Linked DNA regions of Homo sapiens: regions 1, 3, 4, 5, 6 and 7 are each linked to region 2. Evidence: promoter capture Hi-C in 16 types of primary human blood cells and fetal thymus (Javierre and others, 2016). All regions are on one chromosome and are shown on one strand. Each heading gives the region's core, a stretch centred on a gene start or on the middle of the fragment in contact. The rest is flanking DNA. Distances are from core to core; before and after follow the strand shown. Region 1 overlaps ADAT2 (adenosine deaminase tRNA specific 2). Region 2 holds the start of AIG1 (androgen induced 1). Region 3 has its middle 270 kb from the start of HIVEP2. Region 4 has its middle 290 kb from the start of HIVEP2. Region 5 overlaps ADAT2 (adenosine deaminase tRNA specific 2). Region 6 has its middle 260 kb from the start of HIVEP2. Region 7 overlaps LOC153910 (a long non-coding RNA gene).

Region 1 (4,106 bases), core at 1,547-4,046, 380 kb after region 2:
CTGTGTCCTATTCATATAATGGAATACTAGTCGGCAATAAAAAGGAACTACTGATACTGTGACAACATGGATGAGCCTCATAGACATGCTAAGTAAAGGAAGTCACACACAAAAGCACACATACTATATGATTCCTTTTGCACAAAGTACCAGAATAGATAAAACTAAACTACAATGACAGAAACTGGAACAGTGGTTGCTTCATGGAGGAGGATGTGCAGATTGATTGGGGAGGTACACAAAAAAATTTTCTGAGGTGGTGAAAACTTTCTGGATCTTGATAAAGACATGGATTACAGAGATGTTTGCATTATTCAAAACAGATTGAAGGATACATTTACAACCTGTGCATCTCACTGTATATAAAGTATACCTCAACTGAAAAAAATCAATGAGAAAAACAAGTTTAGGAACACTTCCATGACTACCATCCCAGGAATGGCAAACCAATTATTATATTCTCAAAGTTCCCTTTATCACAGGCCATTCGTTTTTCTTCTTGTCCCATGATAGCAGCTCTGGGCCCTAGGAAAATTAACTCTACCTTCAGGCGGAGAGCTTAAGCAGGCAGGTTATGCCTCAGTATAACCTGATACTGCCTCTGAGAGTCAGAATAAGGGAAGAGTACAACCCTTGGACTAGTGTACATTCATTCCCATCTCAATGCAGTCAAAAGAATATAACTGCTGTACAGCTGTTTCCAGAAAGGCAAGGTATTCCTTACTGTGGCAGCCCTGAAGAGACTTTGGAAGACTTGATTCTCACTTAAGTGCAGGTACTTACACACATCATAGGGCATATAAAGTGCAAAGTTGAAGGCATTGTTAAAACAGTGTCTTCTGTCTCCTGCACCAGTCTCTTACTCCCAGTTCTACTTTATTTAACTAGTGACAACTTCCTATTATAAGGCATACAGGATTTCCTCAGTTATTCCCACCATGTTCAACGGACACTTATTCTTCATTTGGCCATTAGAGGAAAAAGGAGACGCCCACAGCAGGAGCAAACTGGGCCTCTCTTTTCTCCATCTGGTTGGTGGGTCAGAGATGGGGCATGGAGAGATGTGAGAAGACAGTATCTGATGCAGTAAGACTGCATTCAGGACTATTTTATGAACTATCCACAGGCCGGTTGTGTCCCAGTTCTGTGACAGTGGTTAAAGCATGTCCAGTTTATGCAAGTTCAAAAGGCTTGAAGAGTCCCGAGGTTTGGTTAATATAGACAAATGCACCATAGGCTACTATAGAGAAGAAAGCCAGGAAGAAGACGGACAGTTAAGGAGAATGGAAATGCTAACTACCAGTGTAGCTATGGCAATTATTATACTAAGAATTTTATTTAAGGTAAGTGTAGAATTACACAGAGATCAAGGTACACAGAAGAGACAAATCATTTATTCATGCAAAAAATATTTGTTGAGGATCTTGAGATGGAGAGATTATCCCAAATTCAGGTGGGTCCTGAAGGCACCCACAGAAGGCAAGAGGCGAAGTGATAACGGAAGGAGAGAGAGAGAGATTTGAAAATGCTGCACTGCTGGCTTTGAAGATGGAGGGATGGGTCATAAATGTCACTTCAGTACCTGGAAAAGGCAGGCTTCCAGAAGTTATTCGGCCCTGCCAAAACTTTGATTGGGGCTCACTAAAATTTCAGACTTCTGGCCTCCAGAACTATAAGAGAATAAACTTGTGTTGTTTTTAGCCACCATGTTTGTGATAATTTGTTACAGCAGCCATAGGAAACTAATACATGCAGCAAAGAGGAAGAAAAACATGCTAAAATAGGAAAAAACTTACAAACCACATCTCTGGCAACACTCTAGTATCTAGACTATATAAAGGACTCTTAAAACTCCACAATAAAATAATAATCCCATTAGAAAAAGACTGTTTTCATCTATTTGTGCTGCGATAAAGGAATACCTGAGGCTGGGTAGTTTATAAAGAGAAGAAGTTGATTTGGCTCACAGTTCTCCAGACTGTACAAGAAGTATGGTATCAGCATCTGCTTCCAGTGAGGGCCTCAGGAAGCTTCCACTCATGGCAGAAGGCAATGGGAGCAGGCATCACATGGTAAGAGAAGAAGAAAGAAAGGAGGGGATGGTATATTCTCATGATAATAATATAGTGAGAACTTGCCACTATAAAAATGATTTATGAGGTATCCTCCCCATGATCCAAACTTCCCACCAGGCCCTGCTACTAATACCAGGGATTCAATTTCAACATGAAATTTGGAGGCGACAAATATCCAAACTATATGAGAAGGCAAAAGACAGACATTTCACCAAAGAAGATAACACACATAGCAAATAAGTACACGAAAAGATGTTTTCACATCATTAGCCGGTAGAGAAATGTCAACTAAAACCACAATGAGGTATCACTACACACCCATCAGCATGACTAAAGTGAAACGTAAAAACAACATCAAATGCTGGCAAGGCTGTGGAGAAGTGATATTACTCATATACTGCTGGTCGGAATATAAAATGGTACAGCCACACTGGAAAATAGTTTGGCAGTTTCTTAAAAAGCTAAACATGCATTTAACTTATGACCCAACAATTCCACTCTTGGGCATTTATCCCAGAGAAATGAAAACCTATGCTCACACAATGTATGTCTGTGTGCACAAATATTCATAACAGCTTTATTTGTAATAGCCAAAAACTGGAAACAACTCAAATGCCCTTCAGTGGGTGAACTGCTAAACAAACTATGGTACACCTGTACCATGGGACACAATGCAGCAATAACAAGGAATGAACTATCGATAATCTCAACAACTTGGATGGATCTCATGGGAATCATGCTGAATGGAGAAAGCCAAGCCAAATGGTTACAGATTCATGTACATAGCATTTTTGAATTATAAAATTATAGACAGAGAACAGATTAGAAGCTGCAGCTATAAAGAGGTAGCACAAGGGAGCCATGTGGTAGTGAAACAGTTCCAGTGGTGGTTATACAAAGCTAAACATGACAAAATTGCATAGGCACGCATACACACACACACACACACACACACACACACACACGTACAAATAAAACTGATGACATCTTAATAAGCTCTGCAGTTTTCCCAATGCATTTTTCCTGGTTTTGATACTGAACTATAGCTATGCAAGATGTTACCACTGAAGGACACTAGACACTTGGGTCCTCCCAGTATATTATTATTGTAATTTCTTGTGAACTTATAATTATTTCAAAATGAAAGTTAAAAAATAAGTACAGGTAAACAAAAAGGATTTTGCAATGGGAATTAAAAAGAGATGTTTAGTGAGTTTAGAGAAATATTTGGTGTTACGGACAATCCCAGAAAAACACTAGGCCAAGAAGGAAGGGTGGTCAAGTGTGTCTAATTCAGCAAGGTGGTGGCAATTTAGGTGGAATGGTGGAGATGAAAACCAGTAGCTTGAACAGTGACTTATCTAAGAGGTTAAATTTTTAACTCCAGCTATACTTTCCCCAACAAACCTCTTAAGAGAGGTAATGTTTTGTCTGCATCTCGAGTATTCTGGTTCTGAGAGCTTGAACATAAGAGCTTACAATTTATTGAAAGCTTACTTTGATCCAGGACTAATTTAAGCATTTTATAAGTATTAATTCATTTCATTTACAAGCCTATAATGATCTTCCCCATTTTACAGATGAGGAAACTGAGGCACAGGGAGATTTTTTTTTATACATGTATATATCTCTCACTAGCGCATGTGAGAGAGCTGGGACTAGGGCATAGACAACCTGGCTCCACTTATTCATTTGTTCAACAAACATTTGTGGAGCACCTACCAAGGGCCAGATTCCAGGGCTCTCTGCCACTGTTCTGCCTCTAACTTCTACTTTAGTAACAACAGACACTTCACCGATCAGCTGCTTTATCAGGGTTTGAGTTTAGAGTGAATCAAGGGACCAAATGAGAGAGAACAGTTGGCAAGAGAGTGAGACATGGAAATTTTAAGGATAAAAAAAATGGCAAGAGGAGTTCAAGGCTGTAGTGAGCTATGATCATGCCACTACACTCCAGCCTGGGTAACACAGCAAGACCCCATCTCTAAAAAAAGTAAAAAATAGGCTGAGCACAGTGGCCCATGCCTGTAA
Region 2 (3,877 bases), core at 1,309-3,808:
CGCTTCATTTTTTTAAAGCACAAAACTATCTGATCATGGTTGGCAAATCATGAAAAAACAAAAGCAAACCCAGCAGAATAGGTTCTAAATACTTAATTAAGAGTTATAGTTATTTATTTAAAAGAAACTGGTCGGGCGCAGTGACTCACACCTGTAATCCCAGCACTTTGGGAGGCCGAGGCAGGTGGATCATTTGAAGTCAGGAGTTCAAGACCAACCTGGCCAACATGGTGAAACCCCATCTCTACTAAAGATACAAAAAAAATTAGCCAGGTGTGGTGGCATGCGCCTGTAGTCCCAGCTACTTGGGAGGCTGAGGCAGGAGAATAGTTGAACCCAGGAGGCAGAGGTTGCAGTGAGCTGAGATCATGCCACTGCACTTCCGCCTGGGTGACAGAGCTAGACTCTGTCTCACAAAAAAACAAAAAGAAAAACAAAACAAAAAACCTGACCATTAAAAATGGCTTTATGAAAATATTATTTCATTTTGTAACAATGGGGTTGGGGAGTCTTAATAATTGTCTAACATGTAAAGTAGGAAGGGTATATCAAACTTTGCAAATATCACATTAACTCATAAAACTTTATTAAGGCTCTATTGAGAGGTGAGGCCAGCTGGACCTCCTGAGACAAGTGGGGACTTGGGGAACTTGCCTGTCTTACAAGAGGAGTGTAAAATGCACCAATCAGCGCTCTGTAAAAAGCACCAATCAGCACTCTGTAAAACACACTAATCAGCACTCTGTAAAACGCACCAATCAGCAAGATTTTAAAAGTAGCCAATCGCAGGGAGGACTGAAAAAAGGGCACTCTCATAGGACAGAAACAGAACACTGGAGAGGACAATAAGGGAATAAAAGCTGGCCACCCCAGCCAGCAGCAGCAACCCGCTCCAGTCCCCTTTCATGCTGTGGAAGCTTTGTCCTTTCACTCTTCACAATAAACCTTGCTATCGCTCACTCTGGGTCTGTGCCATCTTTAAGAGCTGTAACACTTACCACCAAGGTCTGCCGCTTCATTCTTGAAGTCACTGAGACCACTAATCTACCGGCAGGAACCAATTCCAGACACATTATTAAGGTAGGTAGATCTTCAATAGATCTACTCTTTTTTATTTTTATTTTTTTGGCAGTTTATAACCATGTACCAAGGATGCACAATTAAAAAAATAAAGCCAACTTTTACATTAAGATTTAACCAAAAATCATCAATAATACATCGTTTTAATGCTAGTAGAATCTTCTTCTGACATCAGTTCTATTAGCATAATTATAATGCCAATTAAAAAAATCTAGTGGGTCTCTTCATTTTAGTTTAGAGCTTGATTGGAAACATTCAGGAAAACATCCATGGCTTGCTTGCTACTTTCTCTTTACCTCTAGCACTATGCTTCTCCCCACCAGCCCTCCCTCCACATCCTCTGACTCAGAGACTATTTGAAGAGGACACCTGTTTTAAATGGATCCACAGGAAATACCTATGTTGCCTTTTCATAATCCGAACCTGCAACTGGTTGGCTGAAATGAAAATGTTGCCCACAGACTGATGCAACTTCAGTGTGACAACATTTACTGGAAGGCAGGAGGGACTCCAGTTTATATTTATTTTCCTTCCATTAAGCCCTGGTAGTGTAGTGTAAGAAAAAAGTAAGGGCAAAACCAGTTTAACAACCAGATGATTAGTATTAAATTACACGCAGGGGTTTTACATCCAAAATTGGAATTTTTTAAAGCTGAATGCAATCTTGTGGCAGAAAGTTATTTGAAAATCCTTTCTTTATAGCTTTTTATCTATAAACCTCTTGTCCAAAGTTCATATTCTAGCTGATGTTATATACTGATATGACATTATTCAATCTGTCATGGAAAAGTGCTGCGTAGCCTACCCATTGAAAGCAGAATTGAGAGAGTTTCCTAGTGATTGACAGTCGTTTGTCAACACTGAAAACCTTATTGCCCCAAAATACTGAAAGTCACTCGCGGCTGCCTGTGCTCGGGTTTACACCCCACGTTCACACCCCCACCGGATCCCTCCGCACGGGGCACCAGCTCTCGGCCAACTGCAACTACCCCAGGAAGCGTCACCGCGATTCCGGGGCGGGAACATTTGTGGACACTGGGGTCCACTCCTTCAGTCTAGGTTCCCCGCCCCCTCGCCCGGCCCGGCGCCCACTAGCCACAGGGCCCGCTTCCCCCTGGAGATCAGCGCGCACTTCCCGAGCCCTCGTAGCACTCAGAGGTCGCATCCACACCTGGGATGCCTAGGGGGCGCCTCCTGGCCGGGTGTCCCGGGACCCTGCGAACGCAGGAGCAGAATGACGAAGGTGACGAAAGAGATGACGACACGCCGCCTGCCAGGCCGCGGCCGGCAGTGGAGAGCGTCCGCAAACCGCGCCCGGCCAGTACAGGTCACCCGGGCGCTCGCGGCCGCGCCAGTCCCCGGGGGCGCGCGCCCCGCCCCCGCCCCCGCCCCCGCCCCGCCCCGCCCCGCGCCCGCGCCCGCGCCCGGGTTCCCACGGCGCCCGCCCCCGCGCGCCCGGCGCCTCCCTCACGCCCGCCCTCCTTGCCGCCCAGCCGGTCCAGGCCTCTGGCGAACATGGCGCTTGTCCCCTGCCAGGTGCTGCGGATGGCAATCCTGCTGTCTTACTGCTCTATCCTGTGTAACTACAAGGCCATCGAAATGCCCTCACACCAGACCTACGGAGGGAGCTGGAAATTCCTGACGTTCATTGATCTGGTAAGGCCGTCCCCTCCCCCTGCTCGCCCCGCACCCCGTGCCTGTGTGTGCGTGTGTGTGTGTGTGTGTGTGTGTGTGTGTGGATGCGCGAGCACCTGCGCACGTGCGCGCCTCCAGCATCCACCCGTGTCCTCGCCTCTTCCCCAGTGATTGCGTGTGAAGGCCTGGCTGCCCCCGCAGCGGCACCTTCTGAACCACTCACCGTTACCTGGTAGCTGGGTACCCTTACCTGGCAACTGGGGGACAAATGGAGGTGGGGCGCAGCCAGGTGGTGGGCTCTTTGGAGGGGGACACCGAACTGCTTCTAAGAGGTGACACGGGAAGAATCTTCAACAAAAGCATCGGACCTGATCCTGAATGGCCTGAGACCCATTCGCCCTCAAGGTGCTTTTCAGAGCACCCACCGTGGGATGAACTTGTTGCAACTGAAGGAAACTGGGTATTGTCTAGTGATTTGGAACTTCACCTGAAAGAACCAAATCCTTCTCATAAGGGAGAGAAAGCACCTAATAAAGTTGTCTTCTTTGCATCTGTTTTTTTCCCCCATTGTCAATAATTTACTTTCAACCTTTACCCCGTACATATTAGGAGACAGAGATGTTCAAAGTGCATTTCCAAGGTGACTGTACACACTTCTCTGTCTTCCCATGTACAAATTTACAGTAGTTTGCATAAGCAGCTCCTCTGTTGGCACAATATGATAATCTTGACAGGTGCAGGTTATTATTAGTATATCATTTTGAAAGTTTTTCTATTTCTGGCACTAAAAGGCCCTCTTCAACCTCCCTGGAGAACAGAACATGGGCATAAGGCCCAATAATGAACTCATGGATGGACCTAGGAATTTCAGGGTAAAGGTGACTAAGACACACGCTAAAAGATTATTAGGAAGAGGCTTAAAACAAAAGCAATGAAGTTCTAAAGCACTCAGAGAAATTGTAGAACCAATTCCTGGGACTCCCTGAACTGTTTATCCAAGACTATACAGTTGGTTGGCTACACCAGCAAGATTATAATCTCTTGTTGACCCTCCATTCTGATGAAGAGAACATGATACCTGTTTTAAAAATTTCCAAAGGCTTAGGATGCCTCAAAGAAATGCAGAGAGGCTTTTGGTTTAAAAATAACACCTTATATTTGC
Region 3 (3,564 bases), core at 1,027-3,526, 390 kb before region 2:
CAAATTATGGGCTGTGCTACAGGATTATAAACCCCATCTGAAGAGATTATCCAAAATAAGCACAGTGGGGAGACATGTCCTTTCCACTTTCATATGGACTCAATGCTGACCTTAATGTTTAAATATCTGTTCATCCTAAGTTTGTCTTTCTACATTGGCAGCTTTTAGGTATATGACTAATATGATTTGGCTTTGTCCCCACCCAAATCTCACCTCGAATTGTAATAATCCCCATGTGTCAAGGGTGGGGCTAGGTGGAGATAATTGAATCACGGGGGCAGTTTCTCCCATGCTGTTCTAGTGGTGGTGAATAAGTTTCATGAGATCTTATGGTTTTATAAATGGGAGTTCCACTGCGCAAGCTCTCTTGCCCGCCACCACGTAAAAAGTGCCTTTGCTCTTCCTTAGTCTCCTCTGCCACGATTGTGAGACCTCTCCAGTCACATGGGACTGTGAGCCCATTAAACCTCTTTCCTTGATAAATTACCCAGTTTGGGGTATGTCTTTATTAGTAGCATGAGAACAGACTAATATGACAATCTTGAGTGAGTTTTTAAACTGTTCTGTTCCTCAGCGTTTTTTCTTTTTTTTAATCTCTTAAATGGAAGTAATAATCATACTTATTTGAAAGGGTTGCTTGATGGATTAAATGAGTGAGTTCACACAAACCACCTAGGATAGTATCTGGTCCTGAGTAAGCTGTCAATACTTGTACCTTATTAATCTTCATCAATTCATCTATTGACCACAGCTTGACCTCTTACTCTATTTGGCACTGCTCCATTTCACATACCCCAGCCGTGGTGCTCAACCTGCACCATCTCAGTTTCAAGACTCTGCCCATATTCCTCTCTCAAGCTGAGTGGCAGAGTCTGTTAATTGTTCCTGGTATCTTTTCTCTGCCTCTTTCCCCTGAGTTTTAGCTGATCCCCAGTCACTCAGCCAAAGACTACCTTTCCCAGGCTTCCTTGCAGCTAAGTGTGGCCCTGAAACTAGGTTCTGGCCAATGGGAGCTGAGATAAGTTGAAGTGTACAATTTTCAGATCATGCTATTATAGAAGAAGAAGTATGCCCTCCATTCTGCTGGCAGAAGTGTGAGCATACCACAAGATGGAAGCCACGTGTGAAGGCAACAGAGCAAGAAGACAGGATGAGCCTGGGTCCCTTGAGACTTCCCAGGGCAGAGCCACCCACATTTAAACAAGCATGGCAGGTTAGCTTTACTTTCTCTTATGGATTATCCTTTTCTACTTGGCACCTTTGCTCTTTATGGTCTATTATAACCTATATCAGAGACAAGGATGTCTAAAAAGAGGATCAATTCCAGGTCTCTAAGAACTTATGGTTTTCAAAGATCTTAAAGTGAAAAAAATGACAAGTTGATTACTCCACATTCTACTGTAAATAAATTACAGAGGCTGGCTATTTCCCCCCTTCCTTGCTTGTCTTTGGGTTTGAGAAAAACTGATTTATCATCACTTACCTCTTTTTCTTGCTAATCGGTACAATTTTTAAATATTGAGACACCTTGGCTAAATCATAAATGTTTTGTTAACATGCATTCATTGTAAAAACTTGCCTTGACTCATCTATGATTGTTCCAAAGATTTATATGACCAATTCATGTCTGTTTCTCCACAGAATGATCTTCTCTCGCTTCTGAATATCTGTCAGCACACATCTGTGCCTGTGTGTACAAAAACTTCACCTCATGAGAGCCCCAGATTTGACAGAATCAAGTTTGCCTCATTTTTCAAACAGTGTTAACTCAGTTTAAAAATACTTTTCTCATTATGTTATTGCAAGGGTCTTTTATTCCATCTCATGCTTTCGTCTATTTTGGATCTAACATTTATTTAATTAGAAATCTATTATTGGGGAGGGGGCACAAATAAAATTTAGCTACCACTAACCACCCCCTGTCAAATGGTGGTACATTAAAGAAAAGAAGGAAGGTATTACTTTCTTCAGATAACATAAGACAAACATTTAAAATTCGGTCCACTTGGAAAATGCTTTCTCCACATCTTCTTTTATGTGGAGGGTGATTTCCTTTTTAGTGGGTTACACAATGCAAATGAGGCACAGTTCATTTATATCCAAGTCCAGGGAAATGAATTTATAGGCACTCCAGAGGAAAAGTTCCATGGAGATATTCAAGCTTTCTTACTTTCAGACTATCGGAAGCTCTGCAATATATGTCTTTCCCTAGATATCTTAAGGGCACCCAATAAAGCCAGTTTTGCCTGAGAAAAGCCATTTACACCCCTGCTTTCCATGGAAGACTAATTGGAATCGCTGTTACCATTTTAAATCTCTTCAACGGGTTAGGGTGTTGTTATCAGTATAACTCAATCAACCAACATATACTTAATGATTTCCAGTTAGAAGAAAGCTTCTTCCTTCTACAAAACATACAAGGAAAAACACTATTTCTGCCCTGAAGTAGTTGCCAGTCTAATTGCAAAAACTTGTGAGGGTCTCTGGCTTTTCAAGACCCATTAAAAAGACAAAGTCATGTCCTGCAGTGCCCCATAAATGGGTCTACACTCTCCTTTGGCAGTTCCAGTCCATCTTGTGTGTCATCGTATTGCCTAAGTTTGAATAAGCCTTTTAATCTTCAGTAAATTAAATTCTTAGCAGGGGCTTATAAATCCTGTTGTTCTCAATGCCTAACCCAGTGCCTGATCCACAGAATACATTCATGAATAAATAAAGGAGTGGATGAGTTGGAAGCAGAAAGTAAAACAGTGGTTACCAGAGATTGAGTAGGGGAGGCAGGAGGGGAGGATGGAGAAAATTTGGTCAACAAGTACATAGTTAAAACTAGATAGAAGAAATAAGTTCTGATGTTCCATTGCACAGTGGCGTGACCACAGTTAACAGTAAGGTATTGTATATTACCAAATAGCTAGAAGAGAGGCGTTTAAATGTCCTCACCACAAAGAAATGATAAGTGCATGAGGTGATGGTTATACCCGATTTGATCATTATACAATATATATGTATCAAACATCAAATTGTATCCCATAATATGTATAATTATAACATGTCAATTTTAAAAAAAAGCAAATGAGTAAATTTTTAATACAGTCAATGTAGGTTACAAAACTATTTAATTCATCTTCAGGTCTACACCCAGGACATTCTGGCACAATAATTTCTATTTATGCCCAAGAGGCACTAAAGATCCCTTGATTCCATTTATCTATTCAAATTTTCAACAAATATTTATTGAGAGTTCAGTATCTGTGCAATATTTTCTTAGGTGCTGGGAATACGATGGGAGTAAGCCAAGAATTTGCCCTAAGGAAGCTTATATTTTAGGGAGAAAATGACGAGGAAAGAATCTCTCTATAGCAAAAAAGCAGCCAGCCAGGGAAGGAATACTACACCACATCAGCTTGGGCTTACAGGTAAATAAATGGGACTTGTCTATTAAGATTTATTAAATTCAACAACAAAGTGGCTTTGATCTCACAAGTGAATAAACCAAAACGAATTACTCCTTGAAAAGTAGAAATGAAAAATTATTACATTTCTCCTTCCTAATTGGTACATCCA
Region 4 (3,898 bases), core at 856-3,355, 400 kb before region 2:
GTCATGTTGTAATGGAGTATATTGCTATTGCATTCAATATATTCAATATTTTTTTCATTCCAATTACATGCAGTGAATCAAACCCTTGCTACAGTGAAATTGGTTTGAAGCCCTCCCCAGAGCCAAGATCCACCAGAGAACCCCGATCTGATGACTGCCGGCGGGTCTGTGCAGTGCCTTCCTCTCGATTTGAAGAGCAGCTAATTTAATTTGTTCTCTTATTTGAGAGTGAACCAGATCATTTGCATTGTAAATAAAACCATTTCTTGTCTTTATTTCCATCATTTTTGGTTGCTTTTGGCGGCTTAACTTGGATAACTTAATCACGGGCCATATGAAAGAAAGCAGAAAAAGATTTTAAATAAGTTTAGGAGTGAGTGCAAAGCAAATCCGTGGCAGTAACAGGTGACTAAAGCATCTCTGCTATCAGACTTTGTAAGCATCATATGGCACTTGAGTTATCATCTCTGCTGCTAGAGGTCAGAGGAAAATTGGAATAGTGGCCTCTCGAAGTAGGTCCTCTATGCTAAATTCAGGCTTGGAACTACATGAAGTGCAGCATTTCAGGGAGACCCTGGTGTTCTACCTGTGGTGGAAGAGCACGACCTCTGCAGCCAGGCCCTGCAGCCAGTGCTGCCTCTGCTCCCCTCAGCCCAGAACCCAAGTGAAGGCAGAGCAGCGCTGTGTAGGATTGCTTCTCTGCAATGGCCATTATGGGATGGAGAATGAAAGGAACAGTTTTAATAAGTATTTTCCTTTTCGCTGTAATTTCACAATTTTGCGATGGCATCCATTCCCCAGAATAGTGAAAAGAGCATGAACTTAAAATAGCAACAAAGATCATTTTTTAAGTCTAAATTACCTGTGTTGTACTTAATCATTATTGATGTGATATTCTCAAGAATTACAATTCTTTCTAAAGATGATGGTATTTTAAGATGGGCTTTCCCCACACACAGGAAGATCTCTGAGGTACCAAGAAGTTTTTTGTGAAGTTGTTCATTCCTTACTTGCTTCATGTACAGTCTTGGTAATAGCCTTGAGCAGCAGGTGGTGGATTGCACGTCCTATTCAGAGCAGTGTGTAGTTTCCTATTCTGCTTATGGACAACATGAAAAACCTCAAGGAAGTTGTGCTTGGGATATGCACTGTCCATCCCAGCCTCAGCTGACTCATTGAAAAGAGGCTGATGGCAATCTCCCTAGAGACTCTCTTTCCTGGGAAGGACAGGGAACTCCAGCACAGCTAGCTCTTGATGGGCCTCGGGGCCATGCCTTCTGAGGCTACCAGGGGACTATTGGGCCTAAGTTGGCATCTACTGCCAAACTAAATCCCCCATGCCTCACCTACTTTGCCCCTTTTGTTCTGATCCTCTCTCCTGTTTCAACGTTTTATCCTCATATTGCTCTATGTTGCCTCTTTCCTCTGCCAAGCCCGCAACAAGTTTCTTCTCCTCTTAACCTTTCCTCAGTGCTCTCTGGAACTCCCTATCCATGGTTAGCCAATTCTACTTCCATGATTATTCCTTTCACCTCCTAACCTTGACCAAACATTGTCACTTCCCTGGGGATTTCACAGCCCCAGAAAGCTTCTCCAGGTGAGAGGCTGCATAGTCCTATGCCCCCTGAGTCAGGTGTTTGGGAAGCTGGATCAGGGAGCTCCTCATTTCCAGCTGCTTCTTCCAGACTCATGTGAATTCCCTCGTGCACAGTTTGAGTGAGCTCATTTGCGGCTCACACAAAGCATTCATATACCACTGATCACCCCTGCTACTCAACGCCTAAGACTTCAGGCCTGCTGGGATCACGTGGCATGCTGATGCCTTTGTAAATCTGATGAATATTGCATAGATTTGGTGTTCTTTTCTTTAGAAATTAAATGTTTAATGCTTATCTATGGCCACCTTATTTTTCCGATCCCTTCACACACATTCTGCTCCCTGACTACACCTCATTTTTGCCCTCTCTATGTGTTGACCCATTACTTTGCTCCAACCTCTGCTTCCCACAAGCCATCTAGTCTATTTCATTCCAAGTTGTTGAGTCTCTGTTCAAGTTCAGTCTTTTTCATGAAATTTCTTCAGGTGTACCACCCCAAGGTGGTTTCTCATCACGTGTATTCGCATTTATTATCTCTGCCTAGTGTTCAAAAATAAAGCGTATACTAGTTGTGATAGCCTCTGAGTCTGTGAAACTTTTGATTCATTTCCCTACCTTTTCAAATCTCCTGTCACTACTGTTTGGTGCCACACAAAAGCCCCTTCTTGTGTAAGCCTGTCCTCCTCCTCATCATCATGGGGTGCAAGAAGAGTGAGACCTGCGTGGGGCAGGCAGACACCTTGCACCATTAAAGGGCAGATTTATCATCACTGTCACATATACGATGATTGAACACAAAAAACTGACATTAGAACTCATTATAAATAGTAATTTAATCACTTCCTTTACATACCTACAAATGTTTTTCATACTTGCAGAATGCAATGCTCTTATAGTGACAAACCCTGCCTAAATCATAGAATTTTAGAGATGAAGGGACATTCAGTTCCTACACTACTTATTTTACCAAAAAAAAATTTTAAATGTATGTTACTTTATCAGTCAGAATAACTTTAAACCAGCCAAAGCTTGCTTTTCACTAATGGTATATATCGAGTATAGGTCAGTGGGAGGATATTAGTTCATCACAGTCTCTCAGGAACACAGGTAGATAGAGTCTATATCATAACACACGCTTCTACTATTGCTGAGGCAGAGAAATCAGAGCTCTGGAAGATCTTTCCCTAGTGACAAAGTTCTGGCCCACGAATGACATCTTTTCACAAAAGCCGGAACCATTGTTCAGGAACAATCCATGACCCACCCAACCACAAAGGAGCCAGGAAGCTCAGTCATCCATGTACGCTGTACTGAAGTTGATGGGCAGCTCTAGTAAACAGCATAACTATAACTACTCTTCAGCTACTTGTGTTATATTTATGCCATTTCATTATAATATGATAGAAGGTAGTAAAATGAGTATGCATTTTGGAGCCAGATAGCCTAGGTTCAGAACCCTGTTCTGCCACTTGTTAGCTGAGCCTGTGTGGCCTTGGGCAACATACTTAATCCCTCTGAGCCTCAATTTTATTAACTTCTAAATGGGTATTTAACAAGGTTACTGGGAGGATTCAATGAGATGGAATGTATAAAAAGTAAAAAACCTAAAAAAAAGTCTAGCAAGTAATACATACTCGATACACATTAGTTTTTGTTTTCCCTCCATCTCCCCACCCACATTAATGTTTTGTTCACCTTCATTTTGTCCTTCCTTACTTCCCTTGTGAGTATGAATTTGTTCTTGCCTTGGGTTTGAAAGATTGAATCCCATTTCCCTCACCAACAGATAAGCACATTCACTTCAATGCTATAACAATACTGTGCTTTCATTAATATCTCCACCATATTTTCTATCTCCAGGGCTGTATTGTTAGAGAGTTTTCTCTATTTGATTTGGTCCAGCTATTAGATCAATTCCTTTCAAAAATTTGTGAATCACTCCTCGCCCTAGCCTCACTTGAATTCTGTTAACATATCTCACCATGAAGATCATAAGCCTTTCAGGGATAAGGACCATATTTCAAACCTTTGTGTCACTCACATAGTCAAGTATTTTGTTACTCACACAATCTCAGGTGTAAAGCAGTTAATTGGGTATATTAGTTTCCTAGGGCTGGCCATAACAATACACAATCTTCTGGGTGGCTTAAACAACCAAAATTTATCATCTCTCTAGAAGCTAGAAATCCAAGATTGAAGTGTCAGTAGGGTTGGTTGCTTCTAAGAGCTGTGTGGGAGAATCTGTTCCTTGCCTCTCCCCTGGTTTCTGGTGGTTTGCTGGCATTCTGTGGCTTATAGAA
Region 5 (3,862 bases), core at 138-2,637, 360 kb after region 2:
AACACCCATGACTGTATATAGTTATAATTAAGAGCACAGACTCTGGGGCCAGCCTGCCTGAATTCAGATCCTAGCTTCACATTGTTTGCTCTTCATTGGAGCTGTTCACAAAAATTCCAATTCTCTTCTCCCTGATGTAGTTAATGGATTATATTATCTGCTGCCTTGAAGTTGGGCATGGCCATGTGACTTGCTTTAATTCTTTTGAGAGCAAAAGTGATGTGTCACTTCTGGGCAAAAGCCAGGAAGCCCTCCTTACTCAAAGTGTGGCCCATGGTCCAGCACTATGGGCATCACCTAGAAGGTTGATAGAAACATGGCATCTCAGGCCCTCCAGGACCTCCTGAATCAGAATGTGAATTTAATAAGCTCCCCAGGAGATGCCTATGCACGTTTAAGTTTGAGAAGCCCTGCCCTAAGGTATGAAGCATTATTCACCATGTTCTCTTCTCTGGCCACAGCAGCTGATGTCCCCGGTGGTGAAGTTTCCTTTAGCCTAGGCTCCTGGCCTGACCTGAGATGGACAAGAAGCAAGGCATGAGAAAAATAAGCTTTGGTTCTAAGCCACTAAAACTTGAAGGCTGTTACATTGGTTTAACTAGCTCCTTCTGAGTGATGTGATCACTTAGCACTCTGTGACCTTGGGCAAGTTACATAATCTCCCTGTGCCTCAGCTTACTTGATGTAAAACAGAGACAGTAACAGAAAATAATATTTTAAACATGATGATCATAAATAAAATGTATTATTTATTCTAAACCCAAATAAAATGATACATTATCTTTTCTCCTTGCCACTCTCTTAAAATGTATACAAGGAAATAAAACATTCTAAGCCAGAAAACATATTTTGGTATCTTAGATTTTTCCTTTACATTTATAGACCAACTTTTCAAAAGGAAAAAACAAAACCATGGTACTGAAGCAATTCACCATGAGCTGTACAATGAGCCACATCATTCGGTTCCAATCACAGAATTTGAACAAGCAGCTTCCAATCTCAGCCTTTTACCTACTCTAGACCAGGGGCAGCTAACATTTTCTCGAAGGGCCAGACGCTAAATATTTTAGGCCTTTGTGAGTCGCATGGTTTGTCACCACTGCTCAACTCTGCCATTGTAGCACACGAGCAGCCACAGACAACACAGAAACAAATGGGCATGGCTGTCATCCAATGTAACTTTATTTATGGACACTGAAATTTGATTGCCATATAAGGTTCATGGGTCACTAAATATTATCCTTCTTTTGATTTTTTTTCAATCACTCAGAATTGTAAGACCCATTTTTAAGTCATGAGTGGTACCGAAACCGGCAGCGGGCTGGATATGGCCCATGGGCCATACTTTGTGGACTCCTGCTCTAGATTCTCAAGTTCATGCTTCAACATGTTAAAGAAAAATTTATTTTGACACTTGTTAAGGTAAGGAAGACTTAATTCAGGACTACAGTGATAGGTTTTAAAACTATCGCAGGTTTTAAAACTATCCCAACAAGAGGAAGAGATCAGGCTCAGCTCTGAATACAACCAGAACATGTGGGGGTTTATAACTAATGGGCAGAGTGAGGGGGTCAGTGATTAGGAAATTACTAAGAGGAGATATCAAGAGTAGAGTTCTTGCAAAATGAACTTAACAGGCTTCTCGTTGAAGGGAGGCCAAGGACTTACACATCAAAAGTAGGGGATGAGAAATTTCATAGATATTGGGGATGTGGGATTCTCTCTAAACTAGCTTAGCAGGATTCTTGCTAAAGCTGGGCTGTATAGGCCCATCAAGAATGGGGGCCAAGGTGGAGGCCTGGTTAAAAAGAGGACTTAGGGCCTGACTGAAGTTTGGTCAAGGAGAGAGCCTTTGTCAAACTACACCATGAAGCCTCCTTAATAGTCATGGATATGTGGTGTTCAACCCAATATCCACTTAGAAATCAGGTGATAAATAGTCACGAGCCTGTTTTCATTAGCTCAACTTGAAGAAAATGTAAGATCCTAAAGATGTCAAACTTTCAGCAGAACTCACCAGTCTAATCCATAAAAATCACGTCGCCCATCGCTCCTTTCCTCACTACACAAAATTAGCAATTTACAAAGGAAATAGTTGGCAGTTGTCTTCATAGATGAAGTCAATGTAGTCTTATTCCTTTGCCAAAAGGCAGAGAAACCAATTCCTGGTGTCTGGTTTCCCTGGGGCTATAAGGCCAGTTCACGTAGGACCACTGGGAAAGACAAGCTTTGGCATCACCACAGATTTTTAACAAGGCGCTATACTACTTTTAAAAAAGATTTAAGTAATTTTTTCAAGAGCTTTGGCTTTTGCTATTTTTACTGACATTTTGAAAGTAGCAGTGCTTACAACATTTTAAGTCTAGATGTCTCTATGGAAACCCAAGATAACTCATATTTTATGACCAAATGACAACCTACCTAGAGTGTTTATCCCATTGGATCACCATAGGTCATCTGCAGTATCAGAAACATCTTAGGTCTATTTTCCAAAACCCTATCTTATCAGGCATAATGAAATTTATATAATTATTACTTTTGCTGAGGAGGAAATTAGGAAGGAAAGAATTTATTTCTCAGGCTTAATTTTGATGCTTATTAAGATATCACTATTTAAAACATTCTTATTAGAAAAATTTTTTTTATCAATTTTGGCAGACAGTAAAAGAGGAAGAATGCAATCAAATAATTTAATAGTTGCTTTGAAATTTATGTCATTAATTTTCCTCCTCTCCTTTCCATCAGTGTCAAATACATTTTCTGTTTAAAATGTAACAGCTCCTCTTCCCACAGACTGCTTATTCATTGCAACAGAGAAAAAAGGTAACTATATAGTGAAGGAATAGGACAACACCTTGACCAGATGACCAAAATTGACATCACCTTGGTGTGACGGCCTTTGTGTGCCTCCAGATGTGATATCCTGTGAGGAACTTAACATCAACCAGCACCTGAATCTAATCACAAGAAAATATCAAATAAATTTAAAACAAGGACCATTCTATTATTTAAAAAAAGAAGAAGAAAACAGAAAGGAGGCAAAATGACTGTATTATTTAAAAATGTCAATGTCATAAAAGACAAAGAAAGCCAGTGAAAATGTTCTAGACTAAAAGAAGCTAAAGGCAGACCGGTGCAGTGGCTCACGTCTATAATCCCAGTGCTTTGGGAGGCCAAGGAAGGAGGATTGCTTCAGCCTAGGAGTTCAAGACCAGCCTGGGCAACATAGTGAGACCTTGTCTCTACAAAAAAAAAAAAAAAAAAAAATTAGGTGTGGTGACATGAGTCTGTGGTCCCAGCTACTCAGGAGGCTGAGGAGGAAGGATTGCTTGAGCCAGGTTGAGGCTGCAGTGAGCTGTGATCATGCCACTGGACGACAGAGTGAGACCTATCTCAAAAAAAAAAAAAAAAAAGAAAAAGCTGGATTCAAGACAAGTAAATGTAATGCTGGACCCTAGACTGGACCTGGGATTATAGGGTAGTGGGAGAACTTCTTTACAGGACATTATTGGGTCAGCTGACAAAACTGTAATACAAATGATAGATTCAAGTATATCAATGTTAAATTTACTTAAGTCAATAACTATACTGAAGCATTTCGGGGTAAAGGGCCATGGTGTGTTGTGTTTGTGTGTGTGTGTGTGTGTGTGTGTGTGTGTGTGTGTGTGTGTGTATTTTATATATATATACTTTTCCCAGTAAAAAGTTTAAAGAAAAATTAAGAGTTCTTGCCTACACTGAAGCTCTTGGCCATCTATTTTCTCTCCATGATACTCCAAATACAACACAGGAAGAGATGGTTGTGCCAAGTAACAAGAAAGCACAAAGATATTTTAACATGATCTTTTATCAGTGATTGAAG
Region 6 (3,711 bases), core at 1,092-3,591, 370 kb before region 2:
ACCTCAAACAGTTAGTACAGCACAATAAATTCAAAATTCCACCAAAAAAGAAGGAGATAGTACACTTCCAGTCATCCTTGAAATTGTGTATGCAGTTCTGGGGAAAATGACAAACTGAAATTAATCCAGAGGCAAGCTAACATGATAGTTGGGCCTGTGAACCATGAAAGAGGCCTAAACCTCTGAGGCTAATTAAAACCAAAAAAAAAATTTTTAGATCTTACCTTTAAGTCTTTAATCCATTTTGAACTGATCTTTGGGTATGGTGTAAGATAAGGATTCAATTTCATTCTATTGCACTTGAATATCCAGTTTTCCCAAAACCATTTGTTAAAGAGACGACCCTCTCCTACTGTGTATTCTTGATACCCTTGGTGAAGATCAGTTGATCATAAACAAGTGACTTTATTTATGGTCTCTCTATTCAATTCCAATGGTTTAGATGTATGTCTTTATGTCAGTATCATATTGTTTTAATTACTTTAGCTTTATAATATATTTTGAAATCAGAAATGTGATGTCTCCAAATTCGTTCTTCTTTCTCGAGACTGCTTTTGCTGTTCAGGGTCTTTTGAAACTTCTGTAAAAAATAGGAGGAAAGCTTCTTGACATTGGTCATGGCAATGATTTCTTGGATATGACACTTAAAGCATGGGCAACAAAAGCAAAAGTAGACTGGTACGACTACATCAAACATAAATGAGTCTGCACTTCAAAGGAAATAATCAGCAAAACAATTGTTTCTTTTGCAACCTACAAAATTAAGGAAAATATTCACTAATTATATATCTGATAAGGGGTTAATCTCCAAAATATATATAAGTAACTCCTACAACTCAATAGCAAAAAATCAAATAATCCAATTTTTTTAATTGGGCAAAGGACTTGAATGGACATTTCTCAAAAGAAGACATACAAATAGCCAACAGGTATATGAAAAAAGGCTCAACATCACTAATCACTAAGGGAAATGCAAATCAAAACCACAGCAAAATAGCACTTCACATATGTTAGATTGGCTATTACCATAAAAACAAAAGACAACAAGTTTTGGTGAGGATGTGGAGAAAAGGGAACCCTTGCACATAGGTGATGGAATGTAAGTAAGTTGGTACAGTCATGATGTAAAACACTGTGGAGGTTCTAAAAAATTTTTTTGAATAAAACTACCATATGATCCAGCAATCCCACTTCTGAGTTTATATCCAAAAAAAAAATTGAAATCAGGATCTCAAAGAGATAGTGCACAACCATGTTCACTATAGCATTATTCACAATGACCAAGACATGGAAACAACCTACATGTCCATCAGCAGATAAATGGATAAAAAATGTGGTCTATACACTCAATGGCATATTACTCGGCCATGTGGAGATCCTTCCACATGAAACAGCATAGATGAACCTGGAGGACATTATGCTAAGTGAAATAAGCCAGTTACAGAAGGAAAAAATCCTGCATGATTTTTCTTACATGAGGTAGCTAAAATAGTCAAACTTAGGGAAGCAAAGACTTGGACAGTGGTGCCAGGGACTGGGTAGAGGCAGAAATTGGGAGCTGTTGTTCAATGGGTATGAAGTTTCAATGATGCAAGATGCATGAGTTTTAGAGATCTGCTTTACAACACTATGCCTATAGTTAACTGCACTGTGCACTTAAAAATTTGTTAAAGAGTCTGGGTGCGGTGGCTCAGGCCTGTAATCCCAGCACTTCGGGAGGCCCAGGCGGGTGGATCACCTGAGGTCAGGAGTTAGAGACCTGCCTGGCCAACATAGTGAAACCCCATCTCTACTACAAATACAAAAAATTAGCCAAGCGTGGTGGCAGGTGCCTGTAATCCCAGCTACTTGGGAGGCTGAGGCAGGAGAATTGCTTGAACTGGGAGGCAGAGGTCGCAGTGAGCCGAGACTGCGCCACCGCACTCCAGCCTGGGTGACAGAGTGAGACTGCATCTCAAAAAAAAAAAAATTGTTAAAGAGAGTATATCACATTAAATATTCCTACAAAAATAAATAAATAAATGAATATTCTTTTTAAAAAATGTTTATTTTATTTTAAGTTCCAGATACATGTGCAGGACCTGCAGGTTTGTTACATAGGTAAACATGTGCCATGGTGGTTTGCTTCACCTATCAACCCAGCACCTACGTATGAAGCCCTGCATGCATTAGCTATTTATCCTGGTGCTCTCCCTCACCTCCCTTGCCACCAACAGGCCCCAGTGTGTGTTGTTCCCCTCCCTGTGCCCATGCGTTGTCATTGTTCAGCTCCCACATATAAGTGAGAACATGCAGCATTTGTTTGGTTTTCTGTTCTTGTGTTAGTTTGCTGAGGATAATGGATTCCAGCTCCATCCATGTCCCTGCAAAAAACATGACCTTGTTTCTTCCTATGGCTGCATAATAGTCCATGGTGTGTATGTACAATAAATATATATTCTTGCCTGATACAAACACACAGGTACACAAAGGTGCACAAGGAAACTTTAGGAGGTGAATATGTTTCTTGCCTTGATTTTAGTGATGGTTTCACAGGTGTATGCCTATATTAAAATTAATCAAACTGTACATTAAATATGCCAATTTACTTCAATAAGGGAGTTAAAAAATTAAAAATGAGACTGGTGGGAAGACCAGAAAGCAGTCTTCACATATTTAAAGGGTTGTCCTGCAAAAGAGGGATCAGACTTTTTATTGCATCTGGCTCTGGAGGACAGAGAAAGGGGCAAGGCATATAGATTATAAAGAGGTAAGGTTTAGCTTGATAAAAGGAAAAATCCTAATAATTATAGCTATTTAAAAACGAAATATGCTTATTGAACTTTTAAAGGTGATATTATGGACAAATACTTAATGAAAAAGGATAAAAGATGGTTCTAAAACATGAGTAGTACAATTCTTTTAGAATAAAGGTGTGCATACCCATGCACGCATGTGCACGCATGCACATGCACACACACACACACACATACGCACACCTGGGCACATACATCAGAATGTTCATGGTGTTTATCTCTGAGTGATAGTATTACAGATATTTTTAATTTTTATTTTGTACATTTTGGTTTTGTTTTCTAAAATTATTACAGTGAATGCAAATTATTTTTCTTATGACAGGAAAACACTGTACAGCAAAAATGGTTGTGGGACCTAGGGAGTTCTATTTTGTTGGAGGTGTTTGAGCAGAACCTGTAGTTGCTGTTGATAACTCCCAGGATGTTGAAAAGGAGACTGTTATAGACAGGAAGATGGCTATTACCTCTTTTAACCTCTATGGTGCTTCAGATTCTGAGAATCTATTGCACAAAATAATAATTATAACTAATAATTATAACCACTATAACTATTAACATATAACCTGTAGTTATTAATAGTTATGATTAATAAAGTCATAGAATCTCAGATTTGTCAGGGAACTCAGAAGTCAACTTTCCCAGCCAATGTAAGACAGTATGAAAAATCCTTGGCCACACATGCGGATAAAGGATTGCCCATGGCTGGGAATGTATATCCTTTCCTGCTGCTCACTGGTCTACACTAGCAGGTAAGAAACACATTTGTCTCTAAACACCCAGCCCAGTGGTACATGAAATGATCTTCATCTATTTGTTTCTCAAGCATGAAATGATAGCCTACACACAATCTTTTCATATTGTAGTCACTCTGTGATCTTTCAAAATGAAAATAAAGAGGTCTTGTCACTAGGTGTAC
Region 7 (3,707 bases), core at 541-3,040, 440 kb before region 2:
GAGTTGTGACCTTTGATGAGGTAAAGGTCTGGGATAGCTGTTATTAATACGAAAAGGAAAAGACAATCTGAGCACCTTTTCACAGCCCTAACTTACTGACTTACTAGGTTATTTCACCTGACTTTTCTTAAGACCTGAATGCTAGTTTACCCAGGGGTCTGTGCTTACTTTGTTGTCCTCCTTTTTTTTTTTTTTGAGACGGAGTCTCGCTCTGTCGCCCAGGCTGGAGTGCAATGGCGCGATCTCGGCTCACTGCAAGCTCCGCCTCCCAGGTTCACGCCATTCTCCTGCCTCAGCCTCCGGAGTAGCTGGGACTACAGGCGCCCGCCACCACGCCCGGCTAGTTTTTTGTATTTTTAGTAGAGACGGGTTTTCACCGTGTTAGCCAGGATGGTCTCGATCAGCTGACCTCGTGATCCGCCCGCCTCGACCTCCCAAAGTGCTAGGATTACAGGCATGAGCCACCACACCCGGCCTATCCTCCTTTTTATATTAAAAAATCTTCACTTTAACCCTTTCAAATTAAAGTCTGTGCCATTGTATAATAGTTATTGAATAATAACTATTTTTCATTGGTTTCTATAATGTCTGAGCAGGAGATTAGAAAAGTGAATGAGACTCTGCCTTAACCTTCAGGACACAGGCATGGGAGGCCATTCTGAGCAATAGTTAAGAGCACACGTTCTCACATGAGATGCTGAGGGTGTGAACCTGCACTCTGCCAGTTTTCAGTTATTTAATGTTAGACAAATTAACCTCATCATTCCTGGTATTTATATGTAAAATGGAGATAATTGATAGATTTATAGCATTAGTTTGAAGATTAAATGATATTACACATGTAAATATTGTTCAGTTTAATGTCTAGTACAAGACAAAGTACTACATAAGTTTTAGCCTTTATTTTTAGCCCTGGCTCTCAAGACATAACCAGCTTAGGCTATGAGGATGTCAGTCATGGTGAGTAGAAGTTTCTCAGGGATTTACAAACTTACAAAATTTATAAGAGATAGGACTGTGGTTTAATTTTAACACTAAGTCAAGCTTGTTTAAATTCCAGAAAGGGACATCAAAGTACCAAATCAGGAATAAGTTGAATAATTTTGTCTCTTTTGGCCTAACATAATGATTTATCTCTTGTCCCTTTTCTTTGCTCTTCTGTCTTCACTCTCTCCCTGGTAATCTCATTTAATATCAAGAGTCAAGCCATCATCTTGAGAGAATTGAGTCTCAAATATCTTTCCTGAACTCCAGACCCATACTTGCAACATCCTGAAAAATATTTTTGCCTGGATGTTCCCCGAACCTAGGAAACTGTATTTTGCCTTCTTCATCTTGGTGTCTAATCTTCACTTATAAGAAGTATAAATATATTTGTGTTTAAATGGATATAGTGAAGAGAATATGCAAATACATACATGTAAATGAATGAGTAAATGAATAAAACTTGTGAACAGTTTTTCAATTTAGACTAAGATTAGCATATAAAAAGCCTTCAAACTATTTCCCATTCATGAAGTCAAACTAAGTTGAAAAATAACATGCTGACTTCATTCTTCAATTTGGAATAGATGTCTAAAAGTGGGGTTTGGTGAAGAACCTGTCCTGCCACCCAAAGTCAGCAAAAAGGCTTAGGCAGCAAAATAGTGAGATAGAAAGGAGATTGTCAACCTCAGTCACAGGTAGATCACAGACACACACTTGCATAATCATTGCTCTAAGTCCAAGCAATTTCTAAGGGTAGGAAAAAGCTAGACGGTCTATATCAAGTAAACTTGGCTGTGCACTGCAAGCATCAACCTTCTTTATGGAAAGCATGTGAGTTGTGAGTACAAGGGATGGGGATAATGGTAGACCCCACTGACAGTGGACCAGGAACTAAACATATAAATACATCCCCACCCTCTACTCATGGTCTAGACTCCAGTGAAAAAAGATAAGGAAGTAAAAAGTTGGAGAAAGTATGTAAGAAACAGAGCTCCCTCTCATTAGTTTTATTTATTTAACAAAAAACTCCTGAATGCCCTCCAAGTTTCAGGGACTGTTACATGGTCTGTCAGATAACCTAATCAAACCATGTGATAGGAGTGGTATTTGGTGTCCACACAAGTCTACTGTACTCTGGGGAGAAGTTGCTGCAACATTTCCAAGTCCTTCTGACTCCTTTTGAATACACACACATACACACATACACATGTGTCTGAAACTACGGTGTGGTGGGATGAAAGGGGCATGACCTTCTGTTCAGGCGACCAATGTCTTGGAGTAGAAGGACACAACTTTCTCTAATCTTTGTCACCAGGAGAACTTCAGTGTCAGCCTCATGAGGCCTCTACAGGCTGGCCTCCACTGAAGAATTCAATAGTAAGCCAGAGAGACAGATGGAGACTGGAAGATTTTGATTCCTTATCCTGGCCAAGTTTAATATTTCCAAGAACTTGTATCCCCTCAAAAGATATATTAAAGTCCTAATTCCTGTACCGGAGAATGTGACCTTATTTGGAGATAAGGTTTTTACAGAGGTAAACAAGTTAAAACAAGCTTATTAGGTTCGACCCTAACCTTATATGACAGGTTATATAAAAAGGGGATGTTTCTTATAAAAAGGGGATGTTGGGGGCACAGACACGTGTTCAGGGAGAATGCTATGTGAGGATGAAGGCAGAGATCAGGGTAAGGCTTGTTCGTAACAAAGAATGCCAAAGATTGCCAGCAAACCACTAAAAGTAAGGGATAGGCATGGGACAGATTCCCCACCCAGCCCTCAGAAGGAACCAACCCTACTGACACCTTGGCCTCAGACTTCCAGCCTCCAGAACTAAGAGAAAAAATTTCTGTTGTTTAAGACTGTCACTAAGTTTTTGGTATGTGCTTTATTGTGGCAGCCCTAACAAGCTGATACACAAGGCTAATGCTCCAAACTGTTCTGGAAACTAAATTGTATCCAGGTTCATATGCTACCTCATAGGAGATGTGAATGCCTATCAAAATCTTTTCAAATTTATGTTAATAGCATTGAAAGTGAAAAGAAAAAAGAGCAAATATTGTCTCTTCAGAATGATTCTCCCAAAATAATGACAATGTGCTCTTTGAAAAGCTCCTCTCTTTGGAAAAGGCATCCTATATCCTAATCATTTGTTTCCAGCTGAGACAAAGAACTGCTCTTTTATTTCAACAGCAGATAACCACGTTTCAACAATCAAGCCAAAACAGCAGTAATTAACATAAACTGTCTTATGAGTTGCTTGTACACTACCTCATTTTGTCTCATGAGCAGGGCTATGAGATAAATTAATTAAAAACCAGAACAGACGAAAGATGGGCAAGTTTGGGTGTATTAATACTTACTATGAAATTATGATTATGACAACTTAGATAAAGTGAAAACTATTTAAACAAGGCTTCATTGTTTCCTTGTTGTAGGCTAATAATCATCACCACTCAATTCTGGCATCAAACCAGAGCTCAGGGAGGCATTGTGACTTGCAAGTGAAGAGAATGTATTCTAACCTGGGTTCAGCAGGTATAGCTACGTAGTTTGCACGGCTGGTGCAAAATGAAAATGCAGGGTTCATTGGTAAAAAGCAGGAAAAGAGTCATTGAAGGCACTAAAATAATATAAAGTTTCCTTCCTTCTTCATCATGGGGTTTTAAATTATATTTAATGTTGTTTAATGTGGTTCTAAGTAAATTAAAATTAAAATTTT

What was found. The method cuts DNA at HindIII sites, captures the fragments that hold promoters and counts their contacts. A CHiCAGO score of 5 or more calls a contact.
Region 1: a fragment that was not itself captured here is called in contact with the fragment with the promoter of AIG1 in region 2 in 1 of 17 cell types (M1 macrophages); the score reaches 5.3 in M1 macrophages.
Region 3: a fragment that was not itself captured here is called in contact with the fragment with the promoter of AIG1 in region 2 in 2 of 17 cell types (total B cells and naive B cells); the score reaches 9.8 in total B cells.
Region 4: a contact is called between a fragment that was not itself captured here and the fragment with the promoter of AIG1 in region 2, in 1 of 17 cell types (total B cells). The highest score is 5.2, in total B cells.
Region 5: a contact is called between a fragment that was not itself captured here and the fragment with the promoter of AIG1 in region 2, in 4 of 17 cell types (M0 macrophages, endothelial precursors, naive B cells and 1 more). The highest score is 6.9, in M0 macrophages.
Region 6: a fragment that was not itself captured here is called in contact with the fragment with the promoter of AIG1 in region 2 in 14 of 17 cell types (total B cells, naive B cells, M1 macrophages and 11 more); the score reaches 12.1 in total B cells.
Region 7: a contact is called between a fragment that was not itself captured here and the fragment with the promoter of AIG1 in region 2, in 1 of 17 cell types (total B cells). The highest score is 5.7, in total B cells.

Annotation. Positions count from the first base shown.
Region 1 is chr6:143,439,471-143,443,576 of GRCh38, forward strand. All of the region lies in intron 1 of ADAT2 (adenosine deaminase tRNA specific 2), which reads right to left. Among named protein-coding and RNA genes, the nearest start is that of ADAT2, 9.2 kb to the right of the region's middle. The HindIII fragment of the contact is 1,537 bases long and covers 2,029-3,565 here.
Region 2 is chr6:143,058,331-143,062,207 of GRCh38, forward strand. It overlaps AIG1 (androgen induced 1), which reads left to right and starts at 2,559. Exons shown (of 6, transcript NM_016108.4): 1 at 2,559-2,736. The coding sequence starts at 2,596. RefSeq lists enhancers at 1,555-2,493, 2,319-2,448, 3,049-3,098 and silencers at 2,449-2,538, 2,789-2,858. The HindIII fragment of the contact is 5,617 bases long and covers 916-3,877 here.
Region 3 is chr6:142,670,926-142,674,489 of GRCh38, forward strand. No RefSeq gene overlaps it. Among named protein-coding and RNA genes, the nearest start is that of HIVEP2, 270 kb to the right of the region's middle. RefSeq lists enhancers at 853-2,052, 997-1,236. The HindIII fragment of the contact is 234 bases long and covers 2,160-2,393 here.
Region 4 is chr6:142,654,132-142,658,029 of GRCh38, forward strand. No RefSeq gene overlaps it. Among named protein-coding and RNA genes, the nearest start is that of HIVEP2, 290 kb to the right of the region's middle. The HindIII fragment of the contact is 1,038 bases long and covers 1,587-2,624 here.
Region 5 is chr6:143,422,106-143,425,967 of GRCh38, forward strand. ADAT2 (adenosine deaminase tRNA specific 2) reads right to left here. Exons shown (of 6, transcript NM_182503.3): 6 at 727-3,862. Among named protein-coding and RNA genes, the nearest start is that of ADAT2, 27 kb to the right of the region's middle. The HindIII fragment of the contact is 1,676 bases long and covers 550-2,225 here.
Region 6 is chr6:142,688,174-142,691,884 of GRCh38, forward strand. No RefSeq gene overlaps it. Among named protein-coding and RNA genes, the nearest start is that of HIVEP2, 260 kb to the right of the region's middle. The HindIII fragment of the contact is 3,484 bases long and covers 600-3,711 here.
Region 7 is chr6:142,619,933-142,623,639 of GRCh38, forward strand. The region is part of intron 1 of LOC153910 (a long non-coding RNA gene); the gene reads right to left. Among named protein-coding and RNA genes, the nearest start is that of ADGRG6, 320 kb to the left of the region's middle. The HindIII fragment of the contact is 1,497 bases long and covers 1,043-2,539 here.